3 separate regions of the Homo sapiens genome follow, and all the other regions are linked to region 1. The links are contacts of gene promoters, found by promoter capture Hi-C in blood cells and fetal thymus (Javierre and others, 2016). All regions are on one chromosome and are shown on one strand. The core of a region is centred on a gene start or on the middle of the fragment in contact, and the rest is flanking DNA. Distances in the headings are between cores, read along the strand shown.

What was found. Contacts are between HindIII fragments. The CHiCAGO score rates a contact against its expected background, and 5 or more counts as called.
Region 2: a contact is called between a fragment that was not itself captured here and the fragment with the promoter of MISFA in region 1, in 3 of 17 cell types (neutrophils, total CD8 T cells and activated CD4 T cells). The highest score is 6.6, in neutrophils.
Region 3: a fragment that was not itself captured here is called in contact with the fragment with the promoter of MISFA in region 1 in 2 of 17 cell types (activated CD4 T cells and naive CD4 T cells); the score reaches 6.3 in activated CD4 T cells.

The regions. Positions count from the first base shown.
Region 1 is chr11:18,598,339-18,601,455 of GRCh38, reverse strand. It overlaps MISFA (mitochondrial sheath formation associated), which reads right to left and starts at 1,667. Exons shown (of 4, transcript NM_001355570.4): 1 at 1,459-1,667; 2 at 276-364. The coding sequence starts at 1,527. It overlaps LOC112268073 (a long non-coding RNA gene), which reads left to right and starts at 1,909. Exons shown (of 4, transcript XR_002957242.2): 1 at 1,909-2,025. The HindIII fragment of the contact is 4,225 bases long and covers 1-2,296 here.
Region 2 is chr11:18,348,024-18,351,140 of GRCh38, reverse strand. All of the region lies in intron 9 of GTF2H1 (general transcription factor IIH subunit 1), which reads right to left. LOC105376577 (a long non-coding RNA gene) reads right to left here and starts at 2,024. Exons shown (of 2, transcript XR_007062611.1): 1 at 654-2,024; 2 at 1-546. The HindIII fragment of the contact is 1,846 bases long and covers 783-2,628 here.
Region 3 is chr11:18,756,362-18,759,478 of GRCh38, reverse strand. All of the region lies in intron 3 of PTPN5 (protein tyrosine phosphatase non-receptor type 5), which reads left to right. Among named protein-coding and RNA genes, the nearest start is that of IGSF22, 32 kb to the right of the region's middle. The HindIII fragment of the contact is 230 bases long and covers 1,401-1,630 here.

The DNA of each region.
Region 1 (3,117 bases), core at 418-2,917:
AAAAAAAAAGAATGCTATTAATAGTATAATATATTACAGTGTTGTGAGGAGAAAAATAATAGATGGGAACAGTCTTCAAAACAACACCTATGAGACATGGTTATTAATAGACAACTTTGGCCTGCTGTCCTCAGCAGTACTCACCAAATCATTTCCCCTTCCACAGTTTATTATATTTTCCAGAGGAATAAACATTCTCCACTGAGACTTCAGGGTGCTACCAAGTACTTTGGAAAGGGAGGAATCCAACCCACCAGACCTGACCACCCACTTACTGCAGCAGATCTTCACCTAAAGCCCGCCTCCTCAGTTGTGTTTTGCTCTCCTGAACAGGCCACCTCTCCTGCCACTTCAGAGTTGGAGGCTGAATCAGAAAGAAAATTTGAGGGCAGAGATGGCTCTACTCATTGGCCCAGTGGGTAACCACTCTGTGTGGTGACCAGAAGGGCTGCTAAAAGGTCCCACCAATCCCTACCGTCCCCCTTCCTACCAATAACCACTGATCCACTTGGCCTGCAATCCGCAAGTCAAATACGGTCTCCAGCAGACCCCTTGCAAATTCCATAGTGCTTTGAAACAAGTACAGCTATATATGCAAGGGAGGGGGAAACAAAAAAAGACTTAAAAGGATGTCCTGGCCGGGCGCAGTGGCTCACGCCTGTAATCCCAGCACTTTGGGGAGCCGAGGCAGGCGGATCACGAAGTTAGGAGATCTAGACCATCCTGGCTAACACAGTGAAACCCCGTCTCTACTAAAAATACCAAAAATTAGCCAAGCATGGTGGTGGGAGCCTGTAGTCCCAGCTACTCGGGAGGCTGAGGCAGGAGAATGGCATGAACCCAGGAGGCAGAGCTTGCAGTGAGCCGAGATCGCACCACTGCATTCCAGCCTGGGCGACAGAGCAAGACTCCGTCTCCAAAAAAAAAAAAAAAAAAAAAAAAAGGATGTCCCCAGCCAGGCGTGGTGGCTCATGCCTGTAATCCCAGCACTTTGGGAGGCCGAGGTGGGTGGATCACCTGAGGTCAGGACTTTGAGACCAGCCTGACCAACATGGAGAAACCCTGTTTCTACTAAAAACACAAAATTCGCCAGGCGTGGTGGTGCATGCCTGTAATCCCAGCTGCTCAGGAGGCTGAGGCAGGAGAATCGCTTGAGCCTGAGAGGCGGAGGTTGCAGTGAGCCGAGATCGCGCCACTGCACTCCAGCCTGGGCAACAAGAGCAAAACTCCATCTCAAAAAATAATAATAATAATAAATAAAAAATAAAAAAGGATGTCCCTAGTGGGATGGGAAGTAGCCCGGTAGCCTGGGACACTAACTTTGTTCCCATCACATTCTGACTTCCAGTTAGTGGTGAGACCTCAACTATCTTTCCCATTTGGTCAGAAAACCCAGACAGGAAGATGAGCCAGCACAGGACTGACCACCAGGGATTTACAGGCAGAGCCATTACTTACCATCAACTCTGGAAACGTGCCCATGTAACACACAAGTCCAACAAAAAACATCCAGCCAAGCACAATCATGATCAAACGTAAAACAATTTCTAAGATAAAATTGCACAGTGAAAGACTATTCACCAAGATCTTGGCAAAGGAGTGCGCTCACGAAACCTTCAGTTGGTAGAGGTCTCGCATGTCTGTTCGAGTCTTTGGCTCCAAAGGATCCACAACTCCCTAGTGGAGAAGCTGAAATCTAGTAGGGCATTGTGACATCATTGACCATATGGCCCAGACTCAAAACACACCAGAGACACTGCCCCCAGACCAGCAGCTGAGCAGCAAACAGCAACACTATGAAGTAGGCATTATTGTTAACCCCATTTCACTAATCAGAAAACTAAGGCTTAGACTACAGCCTAAGTGACCCGCACTACAGCACATAGCTGATGCTCCAGATCAGGGCCAAGACTTAGGACTCAGCTGCCTCTTGGGCAGCTGGGCTCTTTACACTAGAGGCAGAGATTTGGAAAGGTGTTTTGCTGCTAGGTGTACGACATGTGAACGAAACAAACTGAATTACAGGTAAATGAGACAGATGTCTCTATTTCTGTCCCTGCAAAACCTCCTCTCCCCATGTCAAGGGGATCCTCAGCATGATGGTATATCCACATCTTCATCACCTTGGATTAGTTCCTCTCCATTGATTCTCTTTTCTTGGCCATCATGAAGCCACAGGTACCCCTGTCCTTTCCTCAAAAAAACTTCCAGATGATACTGTGGCTCCTTCCCTGTCTTATTTCTTAATTTCCTTTTATGACCAAACTTCCTAAACAAGTGGTCCATACTCAAAGCTTTTTCCAATCTACGCCTCTTCCATGCATTACATTCTGACTTCTAGCCCCACCCCACTATTAGACACCCTCTCAGAGGTCACCAAAGATATTTTTTGCTTTTCTGCTACAACATCATGGACATTTAATGTATTTTTCATCTCTACAATTTTTTTTTTTTTGAGACAGAGTCTTGCTCTGTCGCCCAGGCTGGAGTGCAGTGGTGCAATCTCAGCTCACTGCAACCTCCGCCTCCTGGGCTCAAGTGATTCTCCTGCCTCAGCCTCCCAAGTAGCTGGGATTAGAGGCACCCGCCACCACGCCTGGCTAATTTTTGTATTTTTAGTAGAGATGGTGTTTCACCATGTTGGCCAGGCTGGTCTCGAACTCCTGACCTCAGGTGATCCACCCGCCTCAGCCTCTCAAAGTCCTGGGATTACAGGCATGAGCCACCGCGCCTGGCCTGTTGTGATATTTCCTGCTTCTTTAAATGTCTTACAACTTTTGATTAGATGTTGAACATGGTAAATTTTATTGCCGAGTGCTGGATTTTGTTGTATTCAACAGTGTTAAATTTTATTCTAAGGTGCACTTAAGTTACTTGCGATCAGTTTGATTCTTCTGAGGCTTGTTTGAAGCTTTATGATAGGCCAGGAGCAGCCTTTACTCTAGGGTTAATATCCGCACTGCTGAGTTAATGACCATTTTCTCTGAGCACCTTCTCTGAGGCTGATTGTATTAGAGCTTTTTTTTTTTTTTTTTTTTTTTTTTGGAGACAGAGCTTTGCTCTTGTTGCCCAAGCTGGAGTGCAAGGGCGTGATCTTGGCTCACTGCAACCTCCGCC
Region 2 (3,117 bases), core at 456-2,955, 250 kb after region 1:
CTTAATTTTTGCTTAATCTTAGATCCACTCAGAATTTATTTTGGATTAGGAGTAAAATAGGGAATCTAAGTTTCTTTTAACAAAATTATCAATCAGTGCTTCTAACACCATTTGTAAAATAATTTACCTTTTCCCACTGATTTTTAAAATGTCATGTGTATCATACATATGCTTAATTCCTCCACGTATTTGGGTTTACTTCTGGACTCTTTTAGTAATTTTATTCATTAATTTTATTAATCTGTTACCCCCTGTGCTATTAACAACCTGCTTAAATTTTTACAGCCTTGTAATAATACAAACATATTACTTATGAAAGATACATGATCTATGTAAACATTTGTGCAAATCAGCCTTGAAATATTTCATCCTCTACAAAGCTATGAAATTCATCTGGTCAACTCTTATTGACTACCAAGACTAGAATCAGAACATTCAGGTTATTAACTATACCTCAAAAAACGTCAATCTGAAAACTTAACGTTTTAAATTGCTCCAGCTTTAAGATTCTAAATAGTCCCTTTATGGTACAGGAACAAATCTGACCTCACATGAAGTCACAAATCTGACCTCAATCTGAAAACTTAACGTTTTAAATTGCTCCAGCTTTAAGATTCTAAATAGTCCCTTTATGGTACAGGAACAAATCTGACCTCAGAGAAACACATCCTTACCTAGACTCAGCCTGACTTTTTTTTTTTTAACTACTTTCTCAACTCTATACCTTTCAGCCAACTTCAAGGATTACTGATGTCTTCATGATTTTTGACATATGTCAAGCTTATCTCTACCCCTGCTGTTGCCTTACCTATGACATGTCCCTACCCAAGCTCCCATAACAATCCAAATCCTAAACTTATGCCAAGGCCTTGTTAGGTCACCTGACTTTCACACTTAAATGAAAGCTCCATCAAGGTAGGGACTCTGTCTGCTATTAATTCTGAATCTCTCATTCTACAAGTGAGAGAATCTATAAATTGTAACCCTTTATAGAATAAACAGCAGTCAACCACTGACTTGGAAGAATAGTTAGAGCCAGCATTTACCACTGAATACTGATAGCCCCTGACTTACAATGGTTTGACTTGGAATTTTTCAACTTTATGATGGTGTCAAAGTGATTCACATTCAGTAGAGAAACCATATTTTGAGTACCCATACATTGTTTTTCACTTTCAGTATTCAATGAGTTACATGAGATATTCAACATTTTATTAGAAAATACACTTTATAGTAGGTAATGCTGCCCAACTACAGGCTAATCTAAGTGTTCGGAACACATTTAAAGTAGGATAGGCTAAACTATGGTGTTCCATACATTAGGTGTATTCAATGCATTTTTGATTTACAGTATTTGCAACTTATGAGTTTATTGGGATGTAGCCCCATTTAAGTCGAGAAGCATCTGTATTGTAAAAATTCACACAAGTAAATAAATTTCTTTTTTATTTTTTCTTTGAGATGGAGTCTTGCTCTGTCATCCAGGCTGGAGTGCAGCGACGCGATCCCAGCTCACTGCGAACTCCGCCTGCCAGGTTCAAGTGATTTTGCTGCCTCAGCCTCCCAGGTAGCTGGAATTACAGGCGCACGTCACCATGCCTGGCTAATTTCTGTATTTTTAATAGAGACAGGGTTTCACCATGCTGGCCAGGCTGATCTAGAAATTCTGACCTCAAGTGATCCACCCACCTTGGACTCCCAAAGTGCTGGGACTACAGGTGTGAGCCACGGCTCCTGGCCAAGAAATTTCTGATAACTTGTTCACCACCAAGAATCAAGGGTACTCAGCCCAACAGTATACAAAGAAAGTATCACTTAATAGATTTCTTCTCTAACTTCTCTATAACTTATTATTAGCTTTGCTTTAGTTCAAAAAAGAAATACCTCACTGGCTTTATTAATTTTATAGGTAATACATGCCTGTAAAAACATTAAGTTACTGAAATAGGCTGGCACAGTGGCTCATGCCTGTAACCCCAGCACTTTGGGAGGCTGAGATGGGCGGATCACATGAGGCCAGGAGTTCAACACCAGCCTGGCCAATATGGCAAAACTCCGTCTCTACTAAAAATACAAAAATTAGCTAGGTATGGTGGTGCACGCCTGTAATCCCAGCTACTCCGGAGGCTGAGGCAGAAGAATTGCTTGAATCCAGGAGGCAGACGTTGCAGTGAGCCGAGATTGCAGTGAGCTGAGATTGCACCACTGCACTCCAGCCTGGGTGACAGAGCAAGACTCTGTCTCAAAAAAACAAACAATAACAACAACAAAAACATTAAATTACTGAAATAAATGAAAGAAATTAAGACTTACCCATACTCTCTTTATTGAAAGATAACCGTTTAGCATATTCATTTGAAGGCCCTTTTAAAGCTCACAAACTATTTTTTTTGTGTGTAAAACTGTACTGTACAATCTGTTCAGTGAACTCTTTGATGCAATATTATCATTAATGCTTTCAAAATAATGAACAGTTGCATCAATCTCTATTGTATTAATGCAACACAGATAACAGAATCCTTGCTACTGTCTTTATTATGATACTGTAATGAATATTTCTATCTAAATCTTAGTATACATCTTTCTTAAGAAATAAATGTCCACAAGTAGAACTAAGGGTGTAAAGCTTTAAACATTTAATACACATTGCCTGACTGCTCTCTAAGAAAGCTTTATCATAATTAGGAAGGGAGGTACAAAATAGCGTGGCAAAGTTGCAGGAGAAGAATAAATACACAAGCAGCTAATTCTGTCCATCCTTCTCCACACCCTCAAATGATTTCTTCAATATTTAATGAGAAGACACTTTCAGCTCTGAAATGCTAGGTTTAACATGAGGGCCAATTCACTTTCTTTGAAAAATCATATACATGAAACTTCGGTTTTTCTGTCATATTGCCTCTGTTGAATGAAGATTTTATTCCCAGAGAACAAAATCACATATAAGAACAATCTGTATGTATGTGTACATGTGAGGAAAACAAACAAACAAACAAACAAAAAACAATAAAAATGGCTAACAGGCTAGAGTCAATGGAAAGTTGGCTGGCAAGCCAAAGCTGGGGAAATACTCTTTGTAATGCTATACACTTTAAGCCAAATGCTTAACATCTTAGT
Region 3 (3,117 bases), core at 266-2,765, 160 kb before region 1:
CCAGGATGGAGCCCATCTAGCTAGGCCTTGGGGTGCTATGGCCAGGCAGCTGGGTTCAAATCCCAGCTCTGCTATTGACCAACAGCATGACCTGTGGTAAATTATCTAACTGCTGTGAGTTCCAAATTCCTCACTCTAGAATAAGGGTAGTAATATGATGACATCTTCACAGAGATTTTGTGAGGATTAATTGAGTTCATGGACGTAAAGTGCTTATTACAGAGTGCTCTATAAATGATAGCTAATAGTGACGGTGATGGTTGTTCCAGGATATGGAATGTGAACAGAAAAAAAACCTTTTTTTCCTTTGTGTTTTTTCTTTCTTTGTGTTCCTGTGCCTGGGGCTCGGGCGTCAGGTCCAGGCCAGTTCTACAGCAGTGGAGTGGGGTAGTGTATCTGGTGGTCCTTTCTTGACTCCCCACCACAGGTCTGAGACCTCACTGAACCAGCACAGCCACAGGCAGGAGTGTTTTATGCTTACATATTTAAGGGGCCAGGGTTGGTGGGGAGAATGATCCTCCGTTTTCCTTCACCAGGATAGAAACAGTTCTCATATTCTAGGGAGTTGCCTGGATGTGTGATGACACTTAAAGAGAGTCTTTGCAACTGAAAGAAGGAATGCATCTGGTCCAGTCCCCTGCATCTTCAAAGGTTGATGCCAATGCCCTTTTAGACAAATGGACATCCATCGTACTCCTAACATATGCAGTGACAGATGCCATTACCTTTCTCTTTGGTCTGGCTCAGGGACAAATCACCCCAGCTCTCAGGAATTCTTTATATCTGAAGAAAAAAAAAAAAAACTCATCCTTCCATTGAAGCTCATTTCTTCATTTCAGATCTCAGCATCTGTTTTGGTTGTCTGTTGCTGCCTGACGATCTCAACACTTAGTGGCTTCAAACAACAACCATTTTATTTGCTCATGACTTGGAGGGTCATGCAGGGTTTAGCTGGGTGATTCTTCCATTCCATGTGGCATCAGCTGAGGTCACTCATTCAGCTGAACACACCTCATTCTGTGCTGGGATAGAATGTCGGAGAAAGCTTTTATTATATGTCTGGCACCTCAGTGCTCCTACCTTGGGCTTCCTCACAGCATGATGGTCTCATGGTAGTTGGACTTCTTATGTGATTACCAAGAAGGAGCACTCTAAGAGGGGCAAAAAAGAAGCTTCAGATCTCTTAAGGCCCAGCTCCAGAAGTTACACAATGTCACTCCACTACATTTTGTTGATCAAAGCCAGTCACAGGGTCAGCCTAGATCCAAGGGATGGGAAGTAAATGCCACCTCTTGATAGGAGGAGTGCAGAGAATCTGTGGCCATCCTTCATCCACCAGCACATCCTCTTTATAAGCTTTCACATTCCTCCTAACACTAGCTTCATCCTCTCCTAAAGCTTCCTCCCCTTGGCCTTCATCCCATGTCTCATTCTTTTCCCCAACCTTCCACTATTTGAGCTACTGACCCTTTGTTGCTTAAATCTTCGGCTCTTTTGCTCTTCTCTTTTCTTTGGCTCTCCTCCCTGCTACTTCAAAGAGCACAGCTGTGTGCAGTCCCACCCCTAACATTTGTAAGGCTGTATATGTTATGTCTAGATAGCTAACTGTTCGAAAGCAAGCTGATAAGCTTTGAAAGGAAATATGTTGTCCTTCCACTCTGACGAATATTCATTTGTAGGGAGTTTAAAAGCCAGGTTCAAATAGAGAATTCTGAGTTCTGCACCAAAATATGGGGTCTAGGGAAAGCCAGTCTCCAGTCCACCCCTGCTCTGTCCAGCACCACAAGGACACTCATGAGCACTTGGGTAGATGGGTACCCCAGCCCACACATCTGAGCTCCAAACACACCTTCTGCAAACAGTCACCTTAGCCAGTTCTAGGAATACACACAGCACAGTGTACTCTCATGAAGCAGTCAAAAAAGAGGGCCACCAGGTCCAGGAATCAGGCTGAGGAGCATTTGACCAGGGAATCTGGGGTTTTGAATATGTGGCCTTACAGGGAGAATGTCCCTTTGGTTCCCTGGACTCCTTACCTGTGAGGAGGAGCATACCTGATGGAGGATTGGAGCAGGGCCCTTCAAAGTGTGAGATCAGGATGAGGGACATTTTCCTGGGTGTAAAGACAGTGCTGAGTGTGTCTGCCCTTGTATTGGGCATTGCCTTTCACTGATGGGCTTGGACAAACCCTGCACTGCTCCATCCCTCCCATGAGGCATTTCCACTGTGAAATGAGAAAAGCAATTTTTTTCATGGTAGTTATAAGAATTCAGTGAGACAATGGATGGGAATGGGGATTTGTAAACCATAAAGTCTTATTCACAGCTCATTTTTTTATGGTTTCTTATTGTCGGATTCAGAAGCCCTGGATGTGAATGAATTTGGACTCCGCCCTTTTTGAGCTTGGATCTTGCATGAATCACTTTACATCTCTAAACTTTGGAATTTCACACACACACATATGAAAATGATGTGTGGGACAGGTGGGGATGTTTATTAGGACCTTGGTGCTGTTTCTTTTTGTTTTGTTTTTGTTTTTTGGTTTTTTTTTTTTTTTGATGGAGTCTTGCTCTGTCACTCAGGCTGGAGTGCAGTGGCACGATCTTGGCTCACTGCAGCCTCCACCTCCCGGGTTTAAGCAATTCTCCTGCCTCAGCCTCCCGAGTAGCTGGGATTACAGGCATACGCCACCAAACCCGGCTAATTTTTTTTTTATTTTTAGTAGAGACGGGGTTTCACCGTGTTAGCCGGGGTGGTCTCGATCTCCTGACCTCATGATCCGCCCGCCTCGGCCTCCCAAAGTGCTGGGATTACAGGCGTGAGCCACCGCGCCCGGCCGGTGCTGTTTCTTTTTAATTCCAAGTGGTTAAAACCTGAAGGATGGGCTGGGTGCAGTGGCTCAGCCTATAATCCCAGCATTTTGGGAGGCTGAGACGGGTGGGTCACATGAGGTCAGGAGTTCAAGACCAGCCTGGCCAACATGGTAAAACCCTGTCTCTACTGAAAATACAAAAACTAGCCAGGCATGATGGCTTGTGCCTGTAATCCCAGCTACTCAGGAGGCTAAGGCACAAGAATCACTTGAACCCGGGAAGCAGAGGTTACAGTGAGCAGAGA